2 separate regions of the Homo sapiens genome follow, and region 2 is linked to region 1. The links are contacts of gene promoters, found by promoter capture Hi-C in human tissues and cell types (Jung and others, 2019). All regions are on one chromosome and are shown on one strand. The core of a region is centred on a gene start or on the middle of the fragment in contact, and the rest is flanking DNA. Distances in the headings are between cores, read along the strand shown. Region 1 holds the start of KPNA6 (karyopherin subunit alpha 6). Region 2 has its middle 8.7 kb from the start of COL16A1.

Region 1 (7,479 bases), core at 163-2,662:
GGACGCAGTGGCTCACACCTGTAATCCCAGCACTTTGGGAGGCCGAGGCAGGCGAATCACTTGAGGTCAGGGGTTCGAGACCAGCCTGGCCAACATGACGAAACCCTGTCTCTACCAAAAACACACAAAAATCAGCCGGGCGTGGTGGTGGGTGCCTGTAATCCCAGCTACTCGGGAGGCTGAGGCAGGAGAATCGCTTGAACCCGGGAGGCAGGAGGTTGCAGTGAGCCGAGATCGCGTCACTGCACTCCAGCCTGGGCGACAGAGCAAGACTCTATCAACAACAACAACAAACAGCAGTTACAAACTAGGCTTGGGAGTGTTCACCCTGGCTTAGCCACTGCATGACCTTGGGTAAGTTACTTTACCTCTCTAAAGCTCAGCTTCCACATCTGTAAAATGGCAATGGTAGCATCTATTTCCTTAGGTTGTACAAATTAAGTAAAACAAGACATGTAAAGCAATCAGAACAATGCCCGTACGTAGAAAGAGCTTAGCAAATTTCACAATTTTTACTGCTTTAGAGGAATTACCACTGTTGGTTCTGTCTCTAAATCCAAAGACTTCGCCATGGTATTCTCTCTGAACAGAGGCCTTGCCAGCCGGAGTCCCCTCAGAAAGATCAACAGGTCGCTCCTTTTCTCCTTACCAGGGCCAGCCCAGAAACCTAAAGTCCTCAACCTAAAGATGGCCAAGAGGACTTGGCCTTTGGTGTTCTACCATCACAAGCGATGCCACTCTGAGCCCAACCGAACCACACTATTTCCGCCTTGATTCCGTTCTCCCGGCCTTCAGCGGCGCAAGCTGCCCTCGGCCTGGCTGCCCATGCTTACCGGCCTAGTGCTGGCTCGCCTGACGTCCCCTCACTAGAGGACTCCACCTCGCTACGTAGGTAGGACTTCCCTGAGTTCAGGGGAGCCACTGAATCTAGTCAAGACACGCGTTGGCCAAACACAACCCAGGAGAAAGCTACCTTAGCGCCGCCCAGGCCTGCCGCCGGGAGCCCGTCCCCCAGCCCCAGTCTGGGCGCAGGACAGAGAGTAGGCCCCTTTCTACCTCCCAGGAACACGTGGGCTCCTGCCCGAGGCCACCATGTGGGGGGCTCCAGGCGTGCCAAGGTGTCCCCGAAACCAGCACCAAAGGACTGCTTCCAGCACGGGCCCTAGCTCGGCCCAAAACTGGCAAGAGGGGCACTCCCGGCCTGACTTTTCCCCTCAGACCTAGCTAGAGGGGATGCAGACATCTTCCGCAGACCGGAGACAGGCTCTCGCCAAATCCCAGGCCCCGACACTCCCTGAGCCCAAGAACCCTACTGCGTGGTTTCCTCACTCACCCATCGCGGGTCCGCTCGCTCACTCTTGGCGGCGGAGGCAACGGCGGCAGCTTCAGCGGCAGCTTTCAGTAGACAATATGGCGGATCTGTAGGACGGCAGCCCGAAAGGGACAAACCAGTTAACTCCAGGACGAAACGCTTTATTGGCCCAATCGCCTATCATTACACCGAAAGTGCGCACTTAAAGAGACCGCAGCTACTAAAGGTGGGGAGTGGAAATGAAATAGGAAAGGAGTGGTTGGGAGGAGACTGGAAGGGATACCTAAGAAAGTTAAGTGTGTCTAGGAGTTCCCAGCTGTTTCTGCTACTATTTCTTTTTTATAGTGAGATTTCTTTACCCGGAACTTTTTCTCCCAGAAGCTTATCCCTCCTTTTTTTTTTTTTTTTTTTTTTTTTTTTTTTGAGACGCAGTCTCGCTCTTGTCCCCCCAGGCTGGAGTGCGATGGCGCGATCTCGGCTCACTGCACACTCTGCCTCCCGAGTTCAAGCGATTCTCCTGCCTCGGCCCCCCGAGTAGCTGGGATTACAGGCGCCTGCCACCACGCCTGGCTAATTTTTGTATTTTTACTAGAGACGGTGTTTCAACCATGTTGGCTAGGCTGGTCTTGAACTCCTTACCTCAGGTGATCCGCCCGCCCCCAAAGTGCTGGGATTACAGGCTTGAGCCACCGCTCCGGGCCAGTTTATCCCTTCTTCTAATAGTTGAAACCAATCGGCTGGGCGCTGTGGCTCACGCCTGTAATCCCAGCACTTTGGGTAGGCCGAGGCGGGCGGATCACCTGAGATCAGGAGTTCGAGACCAGCCTGCCCATGGTCTCTACTAAAAATACAAAAATTAGCTGGGTGTGGTGGCGCATGCCTGTAATCTACTTGGGAGGCTGAGGCAGGAGAATTGCTTTAACCCGGGAGGCAGAGGTTGCAGTGAGCCGAGATTGTGCCACTGCATTCCAGCCTGGGAGACAAGAGCAAAACTCCGTCTCTAAAAACAAAAACAGCAATCATAGACCTTGGGCTGAATATGAACAACGAATCATCTAGAGAGGGGAAGTGCCTTGCTCAATGAGGCTATGGAGAGAAGGAAACAAAGAAGTAAGACTAAACTCAGGTTTTCTGATTAGGCCTACGTAGGTAGCCCTAGTTGAGGTTGCAATCTTATTGGGAGATGAGAAATAGAAAAATAGGGCTGGGTGTGGTGGTTCACGCTTGTCTATAATCCTAACACTTTGGGAAGCTGAGGCCAGAGAATCACTTGAGGCCAGGAGCTCAAGACCAGACTGGGCAACACAGTGAGACCCCATCTCCACAAAAAATAAATTAAAAGAAAAAAATTAGCCAGGCATGGTAATGAGCACTTGTACTTGGGCGGCTGAGGCGAGAGGATCACTTGAGTCCGGGAGGTCAAGGCTGCAGTGCCATGACTGTGTCACTATACTCCAGGTTGGGTGATAGAGTGAGACCCTGTCTCTAAAAAAAAAAAAAAGAGAGAGAGAGAGAGAGAAAGAAATGGGCTGGACATGGTGGCTCATTCCTGTAATCCCAGCATTTTAGGAGGCTGAGGCGGCAGATTGCTTGAGCCCAAGAGTTCGAGACCAGCCTGGGCAACATAGCAAGATCCCCCGTCTCTAAAAAAAAAAAAGAAAAACAATGAGACCCATGCAGTATAGTTAACAGAGTGATTTCATAATCATTTCATTTATCCTCACAGCAAGCTCCTTGAAGGCAGGGGTGGGTTCTATATTGTTTACCACCGTATCTCCAGCACCTAGCACAGAATCTGGCACATTGTGTGTGCTCCATAAATAACTATTGAATGAATAAACAAAGGAATGAACAAAAAATTGAGTTACACAGAGCAAGGGACATGATCTCCCCTTTTAGAGATGAGGAAATTGAGGCTTTTATTGTTCATATGCCTTTTCAATCACGGGACGTATGGCTAGTACATATCAGGCCTTTCTTTTTCCATGACATGGCAGCCCTCCTGTCCCCCACCTCGACACACAGAGCCAGGCTATATCTTCAAGACACAGAGGGATCTATCTTCTGGAAGCAGAACAAGGGCCTGTCACAACAAACTGCCAACTTTAGTTGTGCGCCTGGCCCATTTTCTTGAGGCAAAGAAATCAAAAGGAAAACTCTAGGATGAAGGTCAGGAAGGGGCGCACTTTATTTCCCTTCCTACTGCCCCTGCTTAAGGTGAGACCTCATCACTTTGCCCTGTTCTGTTTTGCCTGCCTCCTCTCTGGCCTCCTGCCTCCAGACTCTCCGGCTCCCACCCACTATCTCCTGAAAAGCAGAGACCTATAATCTCAGCTACTGGGAAGGCTGAGGTGGGAGAATTGCTTGAGCCCAGGAGTTCAAGACCAGCCTGGGCAACACAGAGAAACCTGTCTCATTAAAAAAAAAAAAAAAAAAGAAAAAAAAAAAGAAAAAAAAAAGCAGAAACCTTACAGTGTAACTCTTCTGCTTAGCAACTTCCTACTGCCTGCCCTTAGGTAATGCCCAGACATTTTAATCTGGCACAGACTGGTCCTTACCTGCTTCTTGGGACACTCCCCACCAGGCAATGCAGGCTCCAACCATATTTGGAGAACCACTTTTCTTCAAATATGCGCCTGTCTTCTCATGTGCCTTTGCATATGCTGTTCCCTCTGCTTAGAATGCAGTGCCCTCCTTTCCCCACTTAACCATGAGAACTACTCACTTTTTTTTTTTTTTTTTGAGACAGAGTTTTGCTCTTGTTGTCCAGGCTGGAGTGCAATGGCATGATCTTGGCTCATTGCAAACTTCACCTCCCAGGTTCAAGCAACTCTCCTGCCTTAGCCTCCTGACTAGCTGGGATTACAGGCATGCGCCACCACACCCGGCTAATTTTTTGTTGTTGGGTTTTTTTTGGTGTTTTGGTTTTTTTTTTTTTTTTGAGACAGAGTCTAGCTCTGTCGCCCAGGCTGGAGTAAAGGGGCGTGATCTCGGCTCACTGCAACCTCTGCCTCCTGGGTTCAAGCGATTCTCCTGCCTCAGTCTCCCGAGTAGCTGGGATTACAGGTGCCTGCCACCACACCCAGCTAATTTTTGTATTTTTAGTACAGACAGGGTTTCACTGTGTTGGCCAAGCTGGTCTCGAACTCCTGACCTCGTGATCCACCCGCCTCGGCCTCCCAAAGTGCTGGGATTACAAGCATGAGCCATGGCACCCAGCCTAATTTTTGTATTTTTAGTAGAGACGGGATTTTGCCATGTTGGCCAGGCTGGTGTTGAACTCCTGACCTCAGGTGATCCACCCGCCCCAGCCTCCCAAAGTGCTGGGATTACAGGCGTTAGCCACCGCGCCTGACTCTGAGAACTACTCGCTTTCAAGACTGAACTCAGCTATCAGCTCTTTGGGGAAGCCTGTCTTTCCAGATAGGGCACCTGTCCTCTCTGCTACTACAGGAAGAAATGGACACTAATTTTCCTTAGCATTTCACACCCAAATTTGCTCACAATGTGTGTCTCTCTCTCCTTGTCTATGGAAGGAACAGTATCTTCCTTATCTTTGTAACCATCCCAGTGTTCAGCACGGTGTCTGCCTCAGTAGAGGCACCAAAAATATTTGTTGAGGTGTGTGTCTCCCATATAGCATTGTGAGCTCGTCTGCATACCTTATGGCGAAGAAGGGCTCAGGGAACGTGGGCTGAATAGATGAGAATGGCTGAGTGTCCATGTTTCCTCTCCTTTCAGCCTGAACCCTCCATCCTATGCCCATAGGAGGCAGTGACCTACAAGCAGCTGTTTCTACTCTAGCACATGACCCTGCTCATACACCTTTGCTAGCCTAGGACTATTGGTCCTCCCTGATCCAGCCTCTGTTGACTTTTCCCATTCCACTTTTTTTTTAAATCATTCCTGCTCTAAGATCCACATTCTGTTTACCTTCCCCGAAACACACCAGGATGTTCCAAATCTATGTGCTACTGCATGTGCACTATTACATTTGCCTGCTTCTCTAACTGAAACACCCTTTTCCTCTCTTGTTCACCTAGGAAGTGGCTAATACAATTCAGACTATCCCCTCCTCCAAAAAGCCCAGAGAACATTAAGCATTCTCTCCCCTCTGCTCTGTTGTACCTTGTAACTGTTGGGCTCATCCCAGTGTAGTATTACTTGCTTGTTCCAGTGTCTTGGCATCCTCACCATCTACCATAATACCCAGCAAGGAGGGTCCCAGTGACTGCATGCTGAGATAATCAAGAAATCACATTCTGCCAGGATAGTAGTGTCATCTTTCAGAGGTTTTTTATTTTTATTTTTGAGACAGAGTTCTGCTCTTGTTGCCCAGGCTGGATCTTGGCTCAGTCTTGGCACTGCAAGATTGCAGTGGTGGGATCTTGGCTCACTGCAACCTCTGCCTCCTGGGTTCAAGCAATTCTCCTGCCTCAGCCTCCCGAGTAGCTGGGATTATAGGCATGCGCCACCCGCCATGGCTGGCTAATTTTGTATTTTTAGTAGACAGGGTTTCTCCATGTTCGTCAGACTGGTCTCAAACTCCTGACCTCAGGTGATCCACCTGCCTCGGCCTCCCAAAGTGTTGGGATTACAGGTGTGAGCCATGGCGCCCGGCCTTATTTTATTTTTTTTGAGACAGCATCTTGCTCTGTCACCCAGGCTGGAGTGTAATGGCGCGATCTCAGCTCACTGCAACCCCTGCCTCCAGGTTCAAGCGATTCTCGTGGCTCAGCCTTCCAAGTAGCTGGGACTACCGACATGCGCCACCACACCTGGCTAATTTTTATATTTTTAGTAGAGATGGGGTTTTGCCATCTTGGCCAGGCTGGTCTCGAACTCCTGGCTTTCAGTGATCTGCCCACCTCGGCCTCCCAAAGTGCTGGGATTACAGGCTTGAGCCACTGTGCCCGGCCTTTCAGAGGTTTTATGTCCAGCTCTACCACTTCCTAGCTGTGTTACTACGGGCAAGTCACTATAACTCTCTGAGCTCCAGTTCTTCATCCATTGGAGTGATAGCACTTTCCTCCTAGGGTTGTCATAAAAGTTAGATTAAGGCAAGGCCTGAAATACACACAGAGCAGCATCTGGCACACAGTGAGCATTCAGTTCGCAGTAGCTATCACTGCTCCCGTGGCCTCCAGTGCCTTCTCATCTCCTCTCTACTGAAGAAGGCAGTACCCACAGAGGCTTCAGAAGCCACATGTTGGGGCTTCCTAAACCAGAATCCCACACCTCTGTAATAGGTCTCACACACACGAAGGAAAAGAACCACAGGACACAGGCTTGTTGGGAGTATAAAAATAGGACTTTTTTCCTTATCACATCAATTATCAAAGAAACAGTACGTAACAAAAATACAAAGCTCTGGTGGATTTTTTTGTCTTTTGTCCCCCCCACCACCACTTCTACCCAACAGCCCCTTGCCAGGGAGCCCTTGGCTGAAGCCTGGACGCTGTCCCTGAGGTGACCCCAGGGCTCAGGAGAAACGGTGGTCCAGGTCTCTCTGGGGGCTAGCAGAGTATGAGTAGGCCTTGCCCAATACCAAGCGGTCCCGGAGCAGCTTGAAGAAGGCATAGTAGTTGCTGAAGAGGATGAGGGCCAGCGAGATGGTCTGGTGCCACTTTTCAGAGGACATTAGGGAGTACAGCTGATAGACAATGACAGCGCCCTCCAGCAGCAGGAGGATGTTGAGGATCCGCAGGGGTTTGCTGAAAAAGAACTGCCCGGAAGCGGGTGGGCATGGCTAAAAGGTGTGCTCCAGAAATCTTCCTCCTGGATGGGGGTTCTGGGTGGGCCAGTGAAGGGGACAGCCTCCTGGGGCCCCATGCAGACATGGGTGGGGAAGAAGACTTTCTGGGGTTGGATGTGGACTTTGCCACCTCATCTGCCTTTGCTTGTGGTATTCCTCCTGATAGGACTGCTGCTTCTGATGTAAGTCATCTAAGATCCTGTTCAACTTCTACCTCCCCTAGGAAGTCTTTCTTGACAGGTTCTGCTTGCTCTCTCAAACTCTTTTTGTGGTCTAAAGTCAACACCTTTAAAAAAATTTTTTTTAATTTTTGAAAACTTTTTCTCCCTCATCCACTGACCCTCAATAAAATCAACACCTTTTAATGTCATCTCCTGGGTATTGCTGGGCCTGAACAAATTAGAATCCTATG
Region 2 (6,924 bases), core at 843-3,342, 390 kb after region 1:
TGGGCCACAGAGCAAGACTCTGCCTCAAAAAAAAAAGAAAAGAAAAAAAGAAACACCACATGGCTATGAAAAATGGATGGGGGAGAGGGTAAAACTGGTGGCAGGAAGAGCAGTTGTCAGGTGTTCCAGGGACTGGAACCGGCAGAGGCAGCTCCCAGGGATAACTGCAAGGAAGAAGGGAAGGGGATAGGACCTGGAGATGGGGGGAAGAAGGGAAGATAGATGTTAGAATGACTCCCCTTTCTATCTGGGGCGAATCCCCGAGATGGAGCGGACTGGGCAGGATGGTGGTGGGTAGGCGCCAGTGGGACCTCCAAGGAGAAAAAGGAGCCCAGGCGCGGTGGAACCCTTTCCGCACCCCACCTCTGCACTCCGCGATTCCCAAGCTTCCCGCTAGGTGGAGGGCTGGTGCCCTGGAGACCGGGCTCCGCCTCCCATCCTCCGCCCCTCATCCCAGAAGGATGGACCTTGACTTGGGCCTCCCCAAACCCCGCGTCCCTGTACTCGCCACCAGAGCTCATGTGTCTTGAGCCATCAGCTGCCCCCACTCCAGGGCTCCGTGGCAGAGGCATCGTCCTAGACACTTCTGCCCAGGCGCCTCCCTGGGCCTTTCTGTGCCCACGTATACAGGGCTGTTTCTATGCTCGGGGCGGCCTCGGCCACTCCAGCCTCGCAGACTGCCGGGTCCCCGCAGCTACGTCCTGCAGCCTGGAGGCTTCCCGTTCGCGGCGCCAGGAACGTTCCCTCACCCGCCACCCTCGACGCCCTTCTATTCCCTGACCCCACGCGGGAGGAGGGCTCCATGCCTCTCAGAGGCAGGCTACCCCTCATCTAGGCCTCTCTGGACCTTGGGACAGGTTCTAAGGTTGGCCAGGGCTGGGCGGAGCCAGATAGGAGGCAGGGCCTAGGGCGGAGTCAGGGAAGGCACCCGGCCATGAGTGTGGTCCAAAGGCAGACCAGTGGCGTGGCCAGAGTGGGCTGGAGGCGTGGCTGTCGGCGGGGTGGGGTCGGGATCCCCAGAACCTGGCAGCTTCCTCTCCTCTCCCACCCTAGCCAGTTCTGTCGCCCAAAGCCCCGCCCGCCCTGGCCCCTGGTCCAATGGGCAGACACAGCGACCATCGGGAGGCTCCTGGTCCCACTTAACAGAGGTCGTTATTTGGGAGGCCGCGCCCAGTTCTCTGGAACTGCCAGGCCTTGTGGGGAAGGGGGGCGCATTCTCTGGGCCTGCGCCGCACACCCTGACACCCACCCTCCATGTGCTTCCACCCTTTTCCAAGTAGACAGCTGGAGGGCCTGGGGCTTGAGCCCCGAGCTGGAGGAGCTGGTCAGGCGCCTGCGCCCCCCACGAGGCCCCCCTTCCCTTCAGTCTGCGCTCAGGCCCAGAGCCGGCTCTAAAAATAGACCGGGGCGCAGGAACGTGCCCACCCAGGAGCGGGTCAAGGAGGCCTGAGTCACCGTGTCGGGAGAGCCTTCTTCTTCTCCTCCCCGCCCCCCCACCACCTCCCACCTCGGGGGCTGAGGACGCCTCGATGGCCCGGCATCACTCCGGCTCTGCTGGCCCGACTCTGCGCCCTTGGCAGGGCGGTGCCGGCGGGGCAAGCGGTAGCAGCCACAGCCGGGAAGGATTAGGAGTTCCTGGGCCTGATTTATTTGGTTGTTTTCGTGCGTCTGGCGGCGGCGCCCCCGCCTGGCAGGACAGTCACGTCTGCATTGCTCTTCTCTCCCACCCAAGCTCATGGGTCTGTCCTAGACTTCAGGGTGGGGACCTGGGCTCGCAGCAACACAAAGTCCCGACCTGGATATTAGCGGTTCTGGAGCAAACACTGCTATTCCATAGATGAGAAAACCGAGTTCCAAAGAGAGGAAGAGGCCCATGGCACAGTAGAGTGCCCTGTGACAGCTCTGGATTTCACTCCACTTCCTAGGGCCTGTTTCCTACTGTAGGTGCTCCACCCGAGGATGACACCCAGGTTTATGGCCCATTCCCCTGTCAATTGGGAATGAGACATACTTGGGATTGTCCTAATGATTGAAATAATTTTTTTTTTTGAGACAGAGTCTCACTCGGTCTCCCAGGCTGGAGTGCAACAGCGCAATCTCAGCTCACTGCAACCTCCACCTCCTGGGTTCAAGCGATTCTCCTGCCTCAGCCTCCCAAATAGCTGGGATTACAGGTGCCCACCAACAGGCCCAGCTAATTTTTTTTTGTATTTAGTAGAGACGGGGTTTCACCATGTTGGTCAGGCTGGTCTCGAACTCCTGACCCCAGGTGATCCATCTGCCTCCTCAAAGTGTTGGGATTACAGACATGAGCCACCACACCCGGCCAAAATATTTTTTAAAAAGCAGTCGTGGCATATTGGGAGTCACACACACCTGGCTTCAGTCCCGCTCAGCAAGTTACCATCTCCAACACCTATTTTTCTCTCCTTCCAGAGGAGGATTAATGGGTGTGGTGTGGTGGGCTCCTCTTCCTGGAAGGACTTAGCTAAGGTGGTATGGGGAATGGTCACAGGGTACTTGGATGGATCTGGAACACCTGGTAAACTGAGGCGTGTATGAGGCCTGAATTGGGGGTGAGCGGGAGGGTGGTACCCTGGCCCTCACACAGGTCTGGCTCACTTCACCCCACTCCCATTCCCCTTCCCCATCTCAAGGAGGGGACATATTTGGCTCATTACAGGCTTAAGACCCTCAGACTTGGGAGGAATGGAGTGGGCTCAAGAGTCTCCAAGTTCAGCCTTCCCTAGTTTCCCAAAGGCAAGAAGCCTCCTAAAGCCAAACAATGCATCAAGGCAGACCTCGGCCTTGAACCTAGGCCCCCAGTCTGCCAATCCCCCAGTCCCAGGCTCTTTCTCCCACTCTCCCATCACCTGTCCTCTTTCGTTCGAACACACCAGTGTCAGGCCTTTTCTGAATGGTCAAGGCTGACAAACAAATACTCCAGTTGGTTTTCGGTCTTTACATATTATCATTTAGGCCACTTCACGGAAAAAGGTCTTATGTCTGTCAGAAATGTCACTGAGCTCTTAAAGCTACATGAAACCAGCTATGTAAATAATAAAATGGGGGATCAGGAGGAAATGTCAGAGATGAACATGGGTGTAAGATGCAGGACAAGAGTCTGCTCAAATAAAAATAAGGTACATAAGAATGAGCATTGTTGAATGTTTACTATGGGCTTGGCGTAGTCTCATGCATTATCTCATTGAATCCTCACAATTCCATGTGGTTAGTGTTATTACTATCACCCCCCTTCTACAGATATGGAAAGTATGCCTCACAGAGGTGAAGGAATTTGCCTAAGATAATAAAGCCAGGAAGTAGCAGAGCCAGGATCACACCCTTTCTTGATCTCTGATTTATTTTCTGCTTTGGTGAAACAGTTGGGGTTTCTCCCTGAACTTTCCCTTCCCCTGCTCACTCCCTTAGCCTTCTTTCTAGCCAGGTCACCAGGCCTCTCCTGCCCAGCCCCAGCCCAGGCACTGCTGGGAGGAGGAGGAGCTGGGCAGCTGCCAGAGCTTCTCTCCACCCAGAGATTCCAGGATTCGAAGAATTTATGAGACCAACTGTCTGAGTTTCTTGCATGCGAAGAAAGAATCTGGGAGTCCTTCAATACTCCCCTCATCACCAAGCATCCGCCAGGAGACTCCTTGGTTTGTACTTCATGGAGGGGAGTTTGTCCTCAGAAGGCGCTCGACCCCCTCTTTCATTCATGCAGCAACTATTTTTAAAACACCTAGTCTCTGTCACAGGCTCTAGGGAGAAATGGTAACAAAAGCAGCTCCTTTTGTGACTTCTGGTTTAGCAGGACACAAAGACGTTCAAGCAAATCAATGGCTAATAATTGATGATCCTCCTCCCTCCTCCAAGCTTCTGCCAAGATCTACCCGCCCTGGGGCCTGTTTCCAATTTCCTTCCCCACCTCCAAGTGGGAAGGAAAGTGAACATAGCCTCAAAGCTAAACATTGAGGGGAGGGAAGCCCGCCAAGGGACTGCGTGTGTTGTGGTGGTGAAGATTACATACTCTCTTTGTGGTGGCAATGAGGGTTACACACTCTCATTGTACATCTAGAATAGCTGGTGTTCATTGAGTTCCAGGAACCAAGCTCAGCACTTTAAATGTCCTGTCACAGGTAACCCTCACAGCATCCTTGTGAGGTAGGGACAATTCTGTTTCACCAACGAGAAAACTGAGGCTTACTCCAGGAAGATGGGGTAGTTTGTCAAAAGTCACACAGCTAGTAAGTGGTACAGGCAGGATTTGAACCCAGTTACCCTGGAACTAGAGTCCCCTTGCCCCTTCCTTTAGCCACTATGCTGAGGTCTTATTTGCATTTTTTTTTTTTTTTTTGGAAACAGGATCTCGCTTTGTTGCCCAGGCTGGAATGCAGTGGCATAGTCACAGCTCACTGCAGTTTTAACCTCCTGGGCTCAAGAGATCCTCCTGCCTCAGCCTCCTGAGTAGCTGAGACTACAGGCATGGACTGCCACACCCAGCTAATTTTTAAAAATTTTTTGTAGAGACAAGGGTCTCACTATGTTGCCCAAGCTGGTCTCAAACTCCTATGTTCAAGTGATCCTCCTGCTTGGGCCTCCCAAAGTGCTGGGATTATAGGCATGAACAACTATACCTGGCTCTTATTTGATTATTACAGGTGAAGAAAGTAAGGCTCAGAGGAGCTTAGGGTTTAGCTCAAGGTCACACAGCACAGCAGGATTGAGTTGTGTTGGTTGGTGGCCAAAGGGATGTTTGGATAAGGTGTGGTGGTGGCAAGCTATGCCATTCTTACCCCAAAAGGCTAGGGTCATTAGGTGTGGGATTGGGTCTGGAGGAAGTCTGGGGGCCACACCAGTCTGGGGGTTCTCACTGCTGACTATGTGCCACCCTCACCTCTGCTCCAGGAGAACCTGTGCTATGGGGCAGGAGTCCCTGGGAATACCTAGGCAGACGTGAGCAACATCCCACTGTCCCGCCTGGGCTTATGTCATTTGGCATCTTGTGCCTTGCTCTTACTAGGCCTGGAGAGATATCTGATAGGCAGGAGAAGAGGCTGTTTTAGTTCTCTGCTCACTGGGAGCTTCTTCTGTTTGGAAAGGGGGAGCATTGCCTGGGTTGGGAATCCTAACGCTGGTGAGCACTTCTGAGAGTTTACTAGGTGCCAGCATCCCGTGAGGGGCTTTCTCTTTGTCACTATCTCCCTTAATCCTTCCAGCAACCCTACGTGATAGGCACTGCTGTTATCTCTGCTTGCAGAGGAAGAGGTTAAGTGATATCCCCAAGTCATAGACTCAGTAAGGGCTGGATTTGAACCCACATGCAGATAATCAAACATCATACTCTCCCGCAGGGGTTCTCAAATGTGGTCCCTGGGTCCACAACATCAGCATCACCTGGGAACTTGTTAGGAATGCAAACTACTGAATCAGAAACTCTGAGAGTGGGGCCTGCCAACCTGTGTTTAACAAGTCCTCCAAGCTTGAGAACGCCTACCCTCCTGCTTTACAGAACTTGGGGGACTGCAGGTGACCTGAGTAAACTCATGGGCCCTGGTGTTAGGCAGAGTCAAGTTCCAATCTCTGGCCCACCTGACTTTCCAGCTTTAAACCTTTTTTTTTTTTTTTTTTTTTTTTTTGAGATGGAGTCTCGCTCTGTTGCCCAGGCAGGAGTGCAGTGGCGTGATCTCAGCTCACTGCAACCTCCACCTCCCGGGTTCAAGTGATTCTTCTACCTCAGCCTCCCAAGCAGCTGGGATCACAGGTGCGCGCCACCATGCCGGGCTAATTTTTAGTAGAGATAGGGTTTCGCCATGTTAGCCAGGCTGGTCTCCAACTCCTGACCTCAAGTGATCCACCTACCTCCACCTCCCAGAGTGCTGGGATTACAGGCATGAGCCATTGCACCCGGCCCAGAACAGGATTTCTCTCCTTCAGCACTACTGACATTTGGGGCCAGATAATTCGGATTGTGAGGGGCTGTCCTGGGCACTGTAGGATGGTAGGCACATCATTGGCCCCTGTCCTCCAGATGCCAGTGGCAACCCCTCCCCCATTATGACAATCAGAAATGTCTCCAAACATTGCTAAATGTCCCCTGGGAGCAAAGTTGCCCCCTGTGGAGAACCACTGGGGTAGAATAATTAGGCCAGTTTCTTTCATTTTTTTTTTTTTTTTTTTTTTTAGACAGAGTTTCACTCTTGTTGCCCAGGCTGGACTGCAATGGTGCAATCTCAGCTCACTGCAACCTCAACCTCCTGGGTTCAAACGATTCTCCTGCCTCAGCCTCCCGAGTAGCTGGGACTACAGGGGTGCACCACCACACCCAGCTAATTTTTGCATTTTTAGTAGAGACGGGGTTTCACTATGTTGGCCAGGCTGGTCTCGAACTCCTGACCTTGTGATCCACCTGCCTCGGCCTCTCAAAGTGCTGAGATTACAGGCATGAGCCACCGCACCTGGCCTAGGCCTGTTTCTTTTAGATGCCATAACACACCAGGCTAGGTAGCTTAAACTGGGATTGTATGACACATGGGGACCAGGGTCCAGGGCCACACAGTGGCTAGAGGTAAGACTGGAATCCAGGTCTTTTGTGCCTGCCACAACTCTCTGTGAGTCATTCAAAACAGGTGGGCAGAGTCCAGGGGCAGCCAAGCTGGGGCCCAGGATACCTGGAGTGTCTGGTATCCCGTGTCCACCTTCCCTGGCCATTGCCACATCCACAGCAGTGTCCATCAGGATCTGGGCTCACCTCTCTTGCAGCTCTGGGGTAGTCAAACCAAGCAGGTGTCTGGTAACATGAGCTGCTTGAAGTAAGATGCCCTGGCTGGGCCTGGTGGCTGGGGAAGGTTGCCAGGACCCAGGTCTCAGTGAGGAGTTTGCCACGGCCCCGTAGGGGAGATGGGGCATTATCGGAGAGGAGCACTG

What was found. Contacts are between HindIII fragments. The study calls those that stand out against the background at their distance.
Region 2: a fragment that was not itself captured here is called in contact with the fragment with the promoter of KPNA6 in region 1 in 1 of the 25 tissues and cell types used here (hippocampus).

Annotation. Positions count from the first base shown.
Region 1 is chr1:32,101,989-32,109,467 of GRCh38, reverse strand. It overlaps KPNA6 (karyopherin subunit alpha 6), which reads right to left and starts at 1,412. Exons shown (of 14, transcript NM_012316.5): 1 at 1,334-1,412. The coding sequence starts at 1,337. It overlaps TMEM39B (transmembrane protein 39B), which reads right to left. Exons shown (of 9, transcript NM_018056.4): 9 at 6,605-7,037. The coding sequence ends at 6,795. RefSeq lists enhancers at 682-1,199, 1,157-1,586, 1,200-1,718. The HindIII fragment of the contact is 12,561 bases long and covers 1-7,479 here.
Region 2 is chr1:31,709,293-31,716,216 of GRCh38, reverse strand. No RefSeq gene overlaps it. Among named protein-coding and RNA genes, the nearest start is that of COL16A1, 8.7 kb to the right of the region's middle. RefSeq lists enhancers at 1-297, 366-475, 298-895, 755-1,049. The HindIII fragment of the contact is 5,169 bases long and covers 1-4,676 here.